Linked DNA regions of Homo sapiens: all the other regions are linked to region 2. Evidence: promoter capture Hi-C in human tissues and cell types (Jung and others, 2019). All regions are on one chromosome and are shown on one strand. The core of a region is centred on a gene start or on the middle of the fragment in contact, and the rest is flanking DNA. Distances in the headings are between cores, read along the strand shown.

Region 1 (4,242 bases), core at 357-2,856, 86 kb after region 2:
CTGGAGAACCCTGGCCCTCTGCTGCCTCTCTGACAGGACCTCAACCCCTCTGATGTGGTCCTTCCTGGGAGGAGGTCATAGGTGCCCTGGCCTGAGGACCTCCAGAAGCTGCTCCTTCTCTCTGCTTTGGGCCCTCCTCCGTGTTTCAGTCCTTTAAAATCTAAGTAAATATTCATGGCCTTGTGCATCCAGAAGTCGGAGACAGAATATGGCATTCCTCAAACTGTGTCCCATGGCACTCTAATTTGGAGAGCTTTTAAATGGTGGAGGGGGACTCCGATCCAATAGGTTTGGAAATGTTAGTTTCTATATTTCAGTACTTCTCAGATCTTTAATACACCAATATGCATCATATCATTTCGCTCCATATTCCTTCCAACCCTCCACTCAAATAAAGGAGTAGTGTTGTCATGCATTGAATTGTGCCCCATTAAAATCTATATTGAGGTCCTAATCTGCACTGCATCACAATGTGACCTTATTTGGAAATGGGATTGTTGAATATGTAAATTAGTTAAGATGGGGTCATACTTGAGTAGGGTGAGCCCCTAATCCAATATAACGGGTGTCCTTATAAAAAGGGGAGTTTAGACACCTACACACAAACACACAGAAAGCATGCTATGTGAAGATGAAGACAGGGACCTACAAGCCAAGGAACCCCAAAGACCCAGCAAACCACCAGAAGCTAGGAGACAGGTCTGGAACAAATTCTCTCTCCAATCCCTTAAAAGAAACCAACCCTGCCGACACCTTGATCTCAGCCTTCTGGTCTCCAGAACTTCCAGGGAATACATTTCTGTTGGTTGAACCACCCAGACTGTAATACCTTGGTAGTCCTGGGAAGCCAGAACAAGGGCATTCCAGGAAGCAGAGAGAAGGCATGGCGAAGCTCATTGGTGGGAGTGTGCAGAGAGTCGGGGAGGGGAGACAGTCACGTGATGCTGACATGTGAGGCTCTTAGAAAACGGCCATGAAAAACAAGTTTAGAAAAGCACAGGCCAGGCCTTCACACCCTTAGCCCACCAGATGGCCCTAAATGCCAAATTAGGGGATCTGAATTTTATTCCAAATTCAATACAACTTCCGAAGAGGGGATGCTCTATTCACCATGAGCAAAACAGTGCTCCAGACAGATCACCGTGGCAGCAGCCTGCAGATTAGGGTGAAGAAGGAGGCAGGGAATGGAGGCAAGAGCCACTGTGGAGGTTGCCTCAATGGTCCAGAGAAGACCAGGGACAGTTTCTGGGGATGGGGAAGGATTCCACCTGCAGAGACAAATCTTGAGGATCTGAGGATGAGTCTGCTCTTTCAAGTGAGGAAAAGGTCAAAGAAGAGGTAGAGGTTTCTAACCTGGGCAAACTGGGGGACACTGATGTAATGAACAAAACCAAAGACGAAGGAGAGCTTTTTGGGATGGGGGACAGTATGTGAATGACCTCAGAGTTCAAAGTTAGTCATAGCCATAAGCTGCTGGTTTCATTGAATTCATCACATTTTCTTTAAAATGAACTTGGTGAAGTGATAAGCTGCATTTCTCTCCCTGTTTTTGTTCCCAAGGCTAAATCTGGCTGTTGTTTGACTTTTAACATTCTGTTGATGTATATAATTCGCTAATTTGACTTCTATTGACATTTACTCCTAAACATTCCTAAACGTAGTGTTTCTGTTGCAGCTAGCTAACACTTGGTCTCTAACATGAATACTGTGTTTATAAATGGAGTATGGTGTGTATCAGAAAATGTAATGAGACTAAAGCTGAAAATATCAGAAGATGCCACCCTCTCCATGCCTCCCCCTGTCCCCCAACCCTCATAACAAAACGGTGGGATTACAAAGATTGGTACCAGATAAGGCTGTGCCCTCTGACCCTTACTAGGACTGGCTCCTCTAGACATTCTGAATGGAAAAAAAAAATTTATCTAGTCTAACTGTCTCCCCCTATAATTTCTGCACAGCAAAAAGCAAGCCCTGGAGGGTGCTGATGCTACAGACTTTGTTGACCTTTGACTATTTAATACAGAAGTGGGCCCATACGCCTCTTGATATTTGGGAAATACCCAAACTAACCTCCTGTTAAGAATTGTGAGGGACTTGAGAAGAGTAGGGTCAGGGAGTACTGAGTACCCTGTCCCTGGGTGGATACCTTTCCCAGTGCTGCCACTGTGGCTAAGCGTCCATGTGAAGCAAGCAAGGGGAATAGTGATGTTGGTCTAAAAGTGTTTTTATTATTTCCCCATTGATGTAATCTATGACCATGTGATTCTAAAATATACCTGCAAGGGACCTTCAGGTTTGTGATTTGCAAATCACGTGACTAAATGTATCCAGTTAAAGCTCATCATTATTGATGACATTATATAACCCAGCCATCACCCTATTTCAGAAATGTTAATTTGACTTATTGAATAACTTTCATTTTCATTCTCTTTTGCTAGTGGTTCCTACAAATCTGTCAGTAAGAATTAGATGTGATTTATTTTGGGCTCTGCAATGTTATGATGGAGTAAAGTTGGTTGGGCTTTTTTTTCTCCCCCCTCTTCAGAAACAATATCCTGAAAACTGAAGGACATTTAAAAAATAGGTTTTCACAAGAATAAAAGTGATACCCTTCCTCTTATCTTGGTTCATGCTACAGAACAAATGGAAGACTTCCTGCCTGGTTGGACTGTACTCATTTCAATCCTGCTTATTCCAGCCCTCAAAATTAAAATTGGTGATGAAACTTTCTCTTTCAGCCAAGATGGAGTAACAAAGACCAGATTTACCCTCCTGCCTGGGACAACTAAAAATCCAGACAAACTATAAAAAACAATGTTTTTCAGGTATTGAGCATCAAGAAATGCAGGACAGAGATCACTGAGGGAAAGGAAACAAACCAGGTGAGTCCTGCAGGTATTCCAGCTCACTGCCTAGAGAGAGTTTTCAGGCAGTAGCACTGGCAGCAGGAATGCAGGTGGAGCCTGGCAGTCTTCCTGAGTGAGGAGAGGTAGCCAGGAGCCCTGGGAGGTCAAAGTGACTACAGTTTTCAAGGTAGAGTACTGGACAGGAGAGATCTACAGAGAGAGAGACAACTCCAAAGATCTGAAAAGGGATCCCCCTGAGTCTTCAGCTGAGTGCTGACCAGTACATGCAAGTTATAAAAACTACCCAACACTGGAGAAAAAACGACCCGAAAATCTTAGAAGGAAAAAAATCCCCTGGTGATTATATAGGGCCAAGAATATTTTGTGTTCCTATTAGTCAGAGTGGAAAAATCTTATAACTCATAGAACATCATGAGAGTACTGATAAGGATAGTGGTATACAGCAGCAGCAGTGAAGAACTACGTGCCCTACAAAAATTGCTGCTCTGATCAATACCTAACAAAGCTTAAATGTTAGCCTCAGAAGGATAAAGATATTTGTAAGTTATGTAACTATGTCACAGAATACAGCTTAAGAATATTTTATATGAATATAAAAATATCCATCACCCAAGAAAGTCAAATTAACAATGTCAAGAATACAATAAAAAATTACCAGGCATGCTAAGAAACAACAACAACAAAAGAAACACACGAATGAGGAGAAAAATCCATTAACAGAAAATAAAACAAAAATGACACAGATAACAGAACTAACAGACAAGGACATTAAAACAGTTATGATACCTATATTCAATATGGTCAAGAAGGTAGAAGAAAGATTGGGCATGTTGAGTAGAGGCACTGAATAAAATATTTGAAGAAACAATGGCTGATATTTTTCCAAATCTAATGAAAACTATAAATCCAGAGATTCAAGAAGCTCACCAAACCCAAGCACCAGAAATATGAAGAAAACTCTACCAAGGCATAGCATCATCAAATTGCTTAACCATAGTGGCAAAGACAACAGAGGAAAAAAGACATATCACATACAGACAAAAAAGATAAGAATGACAGATTTCTTGTTGGAAACAATATAAGCAAAAAGACAATGGAGGAGCAATATCTTTAAAGTATTGAAAAAAAAAAAAAACCTCCGAAACCATCCATCTAGAATTCAATACCCAGTGAAACTGTCTTTCAAAATTGAAAGCAAAATAAAGCTTCTAAAACATACAAAACCTAAAACAATTAATCACCAGCTGACCTGCACAGGAGACTTTACAGAAAATCCTTTGGGCAGAAGGAAAGATGAAAGATGAATGTTTAGATCTATAGAATGAAATGAAGAGCATTAAAATGGCAAATATAAATATGGCAATTATAGCAAATA
Region 2 (4,283 bases), core at 1,672-4,171:
GCATAAGAGGCCTGTGACAGAGCCTGGTCTTCACCCTAAGGGAGGTCACAGGGGCGTCAGCAGGATGTGGGGCCAGGTTGCAGGGAGCTGAAGGCCCATGGGACGTAACCAACTCATCATTCTGCTGGAGGCTATATGATCAAACAGCAAACTGTTTATCATGAATGCAGGATGAGGGCAAACTCACAAGGCCCTGCCACCAAAAGGTTTGCTGAGGGACATCACTCCTTGGTGCCGGGCTCCTCGAAGTTATCTATTGGGAAATCTAGCACCTATTGTTCAAAGGATGCAGCCTCACAAGCCTGCTGTGAACCAATTGACAATTACTGGACAATCACACCCCCTCCCCTTTCTCACTATCTCTTTTGCCTAATAAATATGGAGAGCTGTGTAAAACTCAGGGCCCTTGTCCAGTAGAGGCAAGGCGCCCCCTGACCCCTTCTTCCAAATACACTCTTTTATCTCTTGTCTTTTATTCCCACGTTCGCCCCGCTTTGTTCAGTCCCCCTAGGTCCGTGCAGGCTACAAGTGGCACACTGAACAGTGACAGAATCGGGCAATCTACACCAGGTGACCCTCGAGAGGTGCATAGATTAGGTCCACTACAGCAATATTGAAGACCAGATTAGACAATGCAGGTTTTCCAATGCACAAAACTTACCTAAGTTCTCCCAACGTCGTGAGCCTCTAGTTGGGGGTTAGTATTTCTGAACCCCCAGTGAGCCGCTGTGTGATTCTGGCTCAGGCACAAAGGTCTCTGAACTGTTCACACAGGGCAATTACACTTACATCAAAGAGTTGTGAGACCTGAATTAAAATGCGGTGTAAATAACATTTGTAAGTGGCAATGAGCTCCATGTGTAAACATCAGGAGCTGTTGTCAAATGTAAAGATTGTGCTGAGCAAAATACCACGACTTGTTTTAGCCGGACAGGCATTAAAATATCCAGTGTTATTTTGACCTCAGCTGACCAATAGCTGCTCCATTTCTCCAAACTGTAGATGAGTCACCTAGGAAGTCCCTACCCCTTCATCTTCTTGCCATCCTCCCTCCATCCTATCCCACCCCCAGTGAGATATCCTCTTGTTCCCTTTTCTACCCAGCATCCAGAGTTCTGTCTGGCCCCCAGCAGGTGCCCATGGAGGCTACATATGGAATGAAGGAATGAAGGATTGAATAAATGTCTCCATTTCTTTGCACAAAGAGTTACCAATGCTTGAGATGTTCCCCTACTCCCAGGAAGTCACCCTCTCCTGGGAGCCTTTACTCAACCCGCCCTCCATTCCTGTCTTCCCCTTTCTCGGGGCAGCTGTGTGTGACATGCCAGTGCACAGTGGAATGGTTGGTTTTATCCATCTCCCTGACAGGCCCCTGAATTCTTAGGGGGGAAGGAACAAGGTCTCATTCACATTTGTCCCTGCATCTTGCTGGTTGAGGTGCAATCTGCAGCCTCGGGGCGGCGCTCTGGCATGAAGGAGGCCGCTAAGACGTTGTTCTGAAAGCTGGCTTGCAAGGTAGTTTATACTCTGCAAACCAGCGTTTATAGTGTGTGTTTACATGAGTGGCTTAAGGGTGTCCAAATACCGGGAAAAGGTGCTCAGTAAATGTTTCTTCCATGCATGCACTGTAGTATCTGACCCTCAGCTCTGTGTCTTAAGCCCCTGGTTCTCTCATCCAACCTAAAAATAGGATTGTCCAGGCCTTGAGGGCCTTCTGGAAGGCGCCCCCATCAGTCAAAGCGCTTGCAAAGTGCTTCCACCACAAGAGCAGAGAGGCCGCGCCATGCCTGTGATGCTGCTAGGCACAGCTTGTCTGAAAGAGATGCAACCAGGCTACCTCCCGAAGAACCGACTTGTTGATAATCTTGCCTCAAACAGAGGAGTTTGCAGATGGTTGAGGAAGAGCAGTGGTAGAAATGTTCTCCCCAGGGCCGTCACAACTCCTTCCCAGCCGCAGCCTAGTGTTGCAAGAGAGTTTCTGCTGCTGGGACTACAAAGGAGAGGACAAGGCCCATGGCCGGGAGAGGGGCGGCCTGCACCTTTCAGCCCCGGCGCCCGGGAGAGCCTGCGGGGAGTGCGGCGGGGAGAGTCCTCAAGGATGGAGCGCAAAAAAGGGTCTCAAGTCAGTCCTCGCCACCTTTCCGCAGCCTCGGGAGAGGCTTGGGGGAAGCGCAGGCAAGGGCCAAAACCCCATGGAAGTGGGAATCCTCGGCCTCCAGGGTGAATAAATAATTAAGCGCCCAATACACAATAGCCTCGCTAGATGGAGACGAGGAATCACTGCAGCGGCGCTGGCGGCGGCGGCGGGGGGAGCGCAACCCCGGGCGGGAGGCGGGAGAGGCTCTGGCTCGGCTCACGTCTGTTTTCCTTTTTCGTGGATTATTTATTTCGCCTCCACCCACGGCTTTGCTGCCCCAGCGGGAGCTCCCTGCCGGCGCCTCCCGCCGCTGCCTCTCGCGGGCCAGCGTGAGGGTAGTAGAGAGCTCGGGCACCCCAGTGCCCCGGGCAGCCGCGCGGCGCCACCAGGAAAGGCGGGGAGCCAACGCGGGCCCGGGGAGGGCTCGCGCGGCCGGCTCCAGGCGGCGTGGAGGAGACTTTCCCCGCCCTCTGCCTCCGCCTCGGCGGCCAGCCCTGGCCCTGGGAGCGGGGTGCCGCCCCTCCCGCCCCGCGCGCGGCTAGGCGCAGTCCGGAGCCACCGCGCCCTGCGCCCCGTGCGAGGACGCCGCTCCTGGTCCTCTGCTCAGCGGCCCGGGAGGCCCAACCGGCGCGCAAACTTTTGCTCCAGCGCCGGGCGCTCCTCCCCGGCATGTGAAGCCCCCGGGCGCCCGCGCAGCCGCCAAGGTGAGGACGGAGGCCCCGCCTAGAGGGCGGGGGACTGGGGAGGCGGCTGGCTTTAAATGGGGGCTGTCCGGCTGCTGGGAAACAGAGCTGCCGCGGGGGGAACGCGGACCTCTTTTCCCCGAGCCCAGGGTCGGCTGGGGCCGCCGCCAGGCAAGGTAGCGTGAGGCGTTGGAAGGGTGCGGGCGGAGATGGAGGCGTGGGGGAACCCACGCCCGGGAGCGGGAGATCGGGGCTGGGCGGAGGCGTGCAAAGGGGCAGCGCACGGAGGTGCCTATGTTGCAGTGTGCGCAATGAGGCCGGCTGGGCAGTGTGGGTGCAGGCAGCGTGAGATTTCTTGGGGCCGTGCATGCAGGGTCAGCGAGGGTGCAGGCAGGAGTCGGTGGGTGTGCACGGGGATCAGTGTGTGTGCACGGCTGTTTCTGTGGTTGTGCGCGCAGGTGAGTAGTGCCCGCCGGGTTTGAAGTGTGCTCACAGTGAGAGTGAGTTGTATGGGGGTTAATGGGGCGCAGTAAGTGTGCTTGGCTGTTTCTGGAGGTGTCCATGGGGCCAAGGTATGCACGCAGTATTCTGGAGCTGTGCGCGGAGCTAAAGTGTACACGCGGGGCTCTGGGGATGTGCGTAAGAAGAGTGTGAATTCTGGGACTGACGAAGAGTCAGTGAAGGTGTAAGCTGGAGTGTAAGTGCAGGCTTGGTTTACTAGGGTGCCCCTGGGTGCGGGGCGTGCCCGTCCGACCCGGGCTGGGAGGTATATTGGTGCGCGGCGGCGGAAGTGCCTGCGCGGTGTCCGCCTGACCCTAGCCTTGCTCTCCTGACAGTTCGCCCCAGGAGCGGGCGCCGCTGGCCGAGATGCTCCTCCGGGACTTGGTGCTGCGCCGTGGCTGCTGCTGGTCCTCGCTGCTGCTGCACTGCGCGCTCCACCCGCTCTGGGGCTTCGTGCAGGTGAGACGCGCCGGCTGCGCACTGGCTGGGAGGGCCTCCTGGGTAAGGGGCGAGCTGTCCCTTCCCTCCTGAGACCCTGGCCTCTTGCAGCCACCCCACTGATTGGTTCTCGGAAGAGCTTGGGAAAAGAAAAGCTGCTACGGTCCCCTATACCCTACCCCTGAAAAGATAAGAAACTCCAAAGAGAGGCTTCGATTGTGGCCTAAATCCTGCAGGACCGGGCTGGCCTTGGAATGGAAAGGGGCTCAGAGAATACCTTCCAATGATAACATTCTAGGGCAGAAATTCAGCAAAGAAACAAACTTACAAAGAAAAATGATCCCAAGGATATATATTATTTCTTTCTCACCAGAACCACTGATGAACTTCAAATTAGCTTTCTTAAACTGGTTTTCAACACGGAAGGCAGCCGTGTTTCTTATAGGTATCAGAGTTGAGGATGTAGACAGATAATGCATGGTGGCCCATCTGTCAGGACTGCCCAGGGTTGAATCTCTCACCCT
Region 3 (3,830 bases), core at 728-3,227, 120 kb before region 2:
CTGAAGTCCATCTGCAGAAAGATCGAGGCTCTGCGGAATATCTTAAAAACAGGGACTGGGTCTGGTTTATTTCTGGGGCCCTGACAGTCCAACTGGCTCAGAGTAGGGGCTCAGAAGTGCTTTGGGAATTAACTGAATTAAACTGAGTCATGTGGAGTTGGGAGGCAGACCCTACCAGACAAGCAGACATACTTTTTTCCCTGATCCCAGCCTCATCCCCGAAACTGGTGTGCACCCAGAGCTTCCCATACCTCCTGGCCAGCAGGGGCCTAGAGGTGGCTGCAGGTGGCAGCCATCAGAGGGACCCTGGCGCCCACTCAGCACTAAGAGGCCAGTTGTCTCAGCACCCCACAGGCCTGGCCTTGGAGTCCCTGGTGCAACTGGGCTCATGGACACCAGACAAGACCAGAGAGGCCTCCTGGAGAAACATGCAAGGATTGGGTTTGGTGGCCTTGTCACTTCCAAGGTGAGACACAAAGGAACACCTTTTCAGTGGGAGAGTATTTATGGAACCAGGTAAGATAGTAATATTTGCTAATACTCATTGAGTACCTACTATGTGCCAGCCACTATTCTAAGCATGTGGTGTATTAATCAGAGTTCTCCAGAGAAACAGAACCAACAGCTCACACACATACGAGGAGATTTATTAGAAGGAATTGGCTCACGTGATTGTGAAGCTGGAGAAGTCCCACAATTCACTGTCTGCAAGCTGGAGACCCAGTAAAGCCCACTGTGGAGATTCCAGTTCAGATCTGAAGGCCTGAGTGCCAGGAACATTGAGGGCAGAAGATCGATGTCCCAGCTCAAGCAGTCACAGGCAGAAAGCAAACTCACTCTCCCTCCATCTTTCTGTTCTATGCAGGCCCTGAACAGAATGGATGGTGTCCACCTGCATTGGGAAGGGCTATCTGTCTTACAACCCATGAGTAGATACTATTAGCAGCCCATCTTAAGATGAGGAAGCTAAGGTACAGACTGGGGAAGTGACTTGTTGAAGGTCACAGCTAGTAAATGGCAGAGCCAGACACAAACCCCAGCAGTCCACCTACAGGGCTACTGCCTCCATCTGCATGTGAATTTAATTCCATGCAGAAAAGGCCTGTGTCATTGAGTTGTTTGGTATATTTATTTCCCAAGCCCCCACCCCTCCATCTCCTTCATTAAGAGCTGGGCTAAAGAGTCCTCTGCTCACCGACCTCTGTGTGGGCTACTGGGTGTGATAGAACCTGGAGGATAGGCTGATGGGGCAGAGGCTGGGACAGAGGAAGGGAGGGTGGGGTGGGCTTCATCCTGCTGGATGGTGGGGAAGGGACGCTATGAGGATGAGAGATGGGCTTAACAAGGGGGGATCGGGCACCAGAGGCCTCACAACTTATTCATGTCAGTGCCATGATTTGCGCCCAGGTTGTTGAGCCTCAGCCTCTGGGCATGACTATTGCACTACAGTGGCCGGGGAGGGACAGGAAGGATGGGTTTCTGTGCCCATTAGGAAATAGACTTTATAGGGTCAGAAATGGGGGCACAAAGGAGAAGAAAAGTTCAGGGAGACTTGCAGGCTTGGGCAAGCAGGCAGGTGGTGGAGTCACACCCTAAGAGGGGGGACCTGGGAGGAGGGACCCTGCCATGCCCTTCAGGATGATGGTGACCATCAGATGAGATGGGGACACTAGGAGGTCTGTGCTGTCATAGCAAAGACATAACAGTTGAAGAGCACTTACAGGTTTTTCCTCATCTCCATTTCCATGTCAAAATTTACCAGTCCTGTGTCCCGTTTCCTCCAGACCATTGCTAATCTGATAAAAAGGCTTCCCTATGGAGGTGGCATTGGAAAAGGCTGGGTTCCCTTCTAACCTTCCCCTCTCTTTTTGCCAGGGTCCTTCCTGAGGCAAATCCTCAGCCGCTGTTGCACGGGGTAAGAGGGAAGGGCAGGGTCAGCCTGGGGAGGATGTGGTGGGATGAGTGCTCAGGGGCTGAGCACAGCACATGTACCAGCCATCTTGGAAGCCACCTCATGTGCCAGACCAGATGGGCCACACCCCTGTCTCCACTGAGAGTGAGCTTGCTGTCTCCAGAGGTAATCGAGCAAGAATAAGACTGACAGTTGGGGAGAAGATAGTAATGCAGATTTAAGCATCAGTGTGTGCACTGGGGAAGTTGCCTGAGGTGACCTGTAACCTTCCATGTCCAGAGTCAAAGATGCTGGGATGCTGAGAATTGGAAACTCCTGGGAGTACCCGCAGGAAAGAGGGTCCATTCGAGGCATCTCCCTGTCTTTCATCTCCAGTTTGTCCACAAGGCCTCACCTCTGGCATGGCCACCCCTCAGACTAGCCAGTCCTTTTTCCATCCAGTACATCTCCATCTCTGTACACCTCATTTCCAGGTGAAGAAGCCAGATCCTCAGAATGTCAGGGCTGGGCAGGACCTCAGAGCTCAGCCAACCAACCTTTGATTTTCAGGGGAGGACCCCGAAAGCCCAAAGTACAAACAGACAATGGCCTGCCTGTGTAGGAAAAGAGAACCTTGGCCCACAATTTCTGCAGCAAGCAGCACATGAAGCCAAACCAAACCTCTGTGGCAATGGGCCCAGAATGGTCAGGGCTCTGTCAATCCTGGTCAGCTTCCCTATTGTTGACTACTGCTTCCAACTCAACACCCATGAAAGAAAGCCAAATATGCTCCTAATGCAATCACATAAGATGTCGGGCTTCCAGCTAGCCACCTCCCGCTTCCCCATGCAACAACCTCCAGTCAGGGCACACCTGAGGCCTCCCCCTTTTCACTATGATGCTTCCCCTCACCCTGCCTGCCTGGGAGTCTCTGTCAAATGCAAGTGACAGTGGCCCATTCCCTTGCCATACCAAGCACACAATAAATGGCCTCTGTTTGATCTCCTTTGGGTGGTCCCAATTTATTTCCACAACACAGAGACCCAGGAAGGGATGGTGGGTTGTTTAAGGTCACATTCCAGGTCTAGGACAGAACTCAGCTCATTCGTTATCACCTCGTTAGAACTTTACTTCTCTGACTCCCTCTATTATTCTAGGTAGAATTGACCACGTTCTCCCTCTTGCCTCTCAGTATCCTTCACACTCTATCTCAGCACCTTCCACACATGCGATGATTTTAAAGTATGTCGAAAGCTCTGTGATACTCATCCCTTTAAGAAGTGGAGCCTAATACTCCTCCCCTTAGTGTGGTCTGGATTTAGTCACTCTTCTAGTGAATAGAATGATATGAAGTGACCATCTGTGACTTCAGAGATGAGGTCATAAGAGGCTCAGCAGCTTCCTCCTTAATCTCTTGGATCAGCTCTAGGGGAAGCCAGCTGCCATGTTGTGGGGATGCTCAAGGAGCCCTGAGGAGAGGCCCATGTGATGAGGAGCTGAGAGGACTTGGGCCAAAAGCCAGTGGAGAATTGAGGTCTCCTGTCAGTAGCCATATAAGCAAGTATTCTGGAAGCACATCCTCCATTCCCAGTCAATATCTTAACTTCAACCTCATGAAAGACCTTGAGCCTAGCTCAGCCACTCCCAGACTCCTGACCCACAGATACTGTGTGAGGTAATCCAAGCTTGTTGTTTCAAGCTGCTAAGCAATCTGTTGCAATAGATAATTAATGCAACACATTTCTGCATTTTTTGCCCTACATGTCTGAGACATATAATATCCAATAATATCCAATTAGGAGCTCTTGAGAATAAGGCACCAGTAGCTCAGGGCTCAGCAATGTTTGATGGACAGACATATGGATGAATGGATGGGTAGATGAGGGTGCACAAAGTAAGCGAGGGGGCACCCTCGCTTACTTTGGCTTCAGGGTTGGAT

The links. Contacts are between HindIII fragments. The study calls those that stand out against the background at their distance.
Region 1: a fragment that was not itself captured here is called in contact with the fragment with the promoter of PRIMA1 in region 2 in 6 of the 25 tissues and cell types used here (H1 embryonic stem cells, aorta, dorsolateral prefrontal cortex and 3 more).
Region 3: a contact is called between a fragment that was not itself captured here and the fragment with the promoter of PRIMA1 in region 2, in 2 of the 25 tissues and cell types used here (heart left ventricle and pancreas).

The regions. Positions count from the first base shown.
Region 1 is chr14:93,699,834-93,704,075 of GRCh38, reverse strand. All of the region lies in intron 50 of UNC79 (unc-79 subunit of NALCN channel complex), which reads right to left. Among named protein-coding and RNA genes, the nearest start is that of PRIMA1, 87 kb to the left of the region's middle. The HindIII fragment of the contact is 4,233 bases long and covers 1-3,722 here.
Region 2 is chr14:93,787,123-93,791,405 of GRCh38, reverse strand. PRIMA1 (proline rich membrane anchor 1) reads left to right here and starts at 2,921. Exons shown (of 5, transcript NM_178013.4): 1 at 2,921-2,996; 2 at 3,657-3,780. The coding sequence starts at 3,688. RefSeq lists enhancers at 1,418-2,129, 2,130-2,843, 2,844-3,555. The HindIII fragment of the contact is 12,037 bases long and covers 1-4,283 here.
Region 3 is chr14:93,908,655-93,912,484 of GRCh38, reverse strand. It overlaps FAM181A-AS1 (FAM181A antisense RNA 1), which reads left to right. Exons shown (of 11, transcript NR_027004.2): 7 at 866-971; 8 at 1,876-1,915; 9 at 3,315-3,566. Among named protein-coding and RNA genes, the nearest start is that of FAM181A-AS1, 16 kb to the left of the region's middle. The HindIII fragment of the contact is 4,934 bases long and covers 1-3,830 here.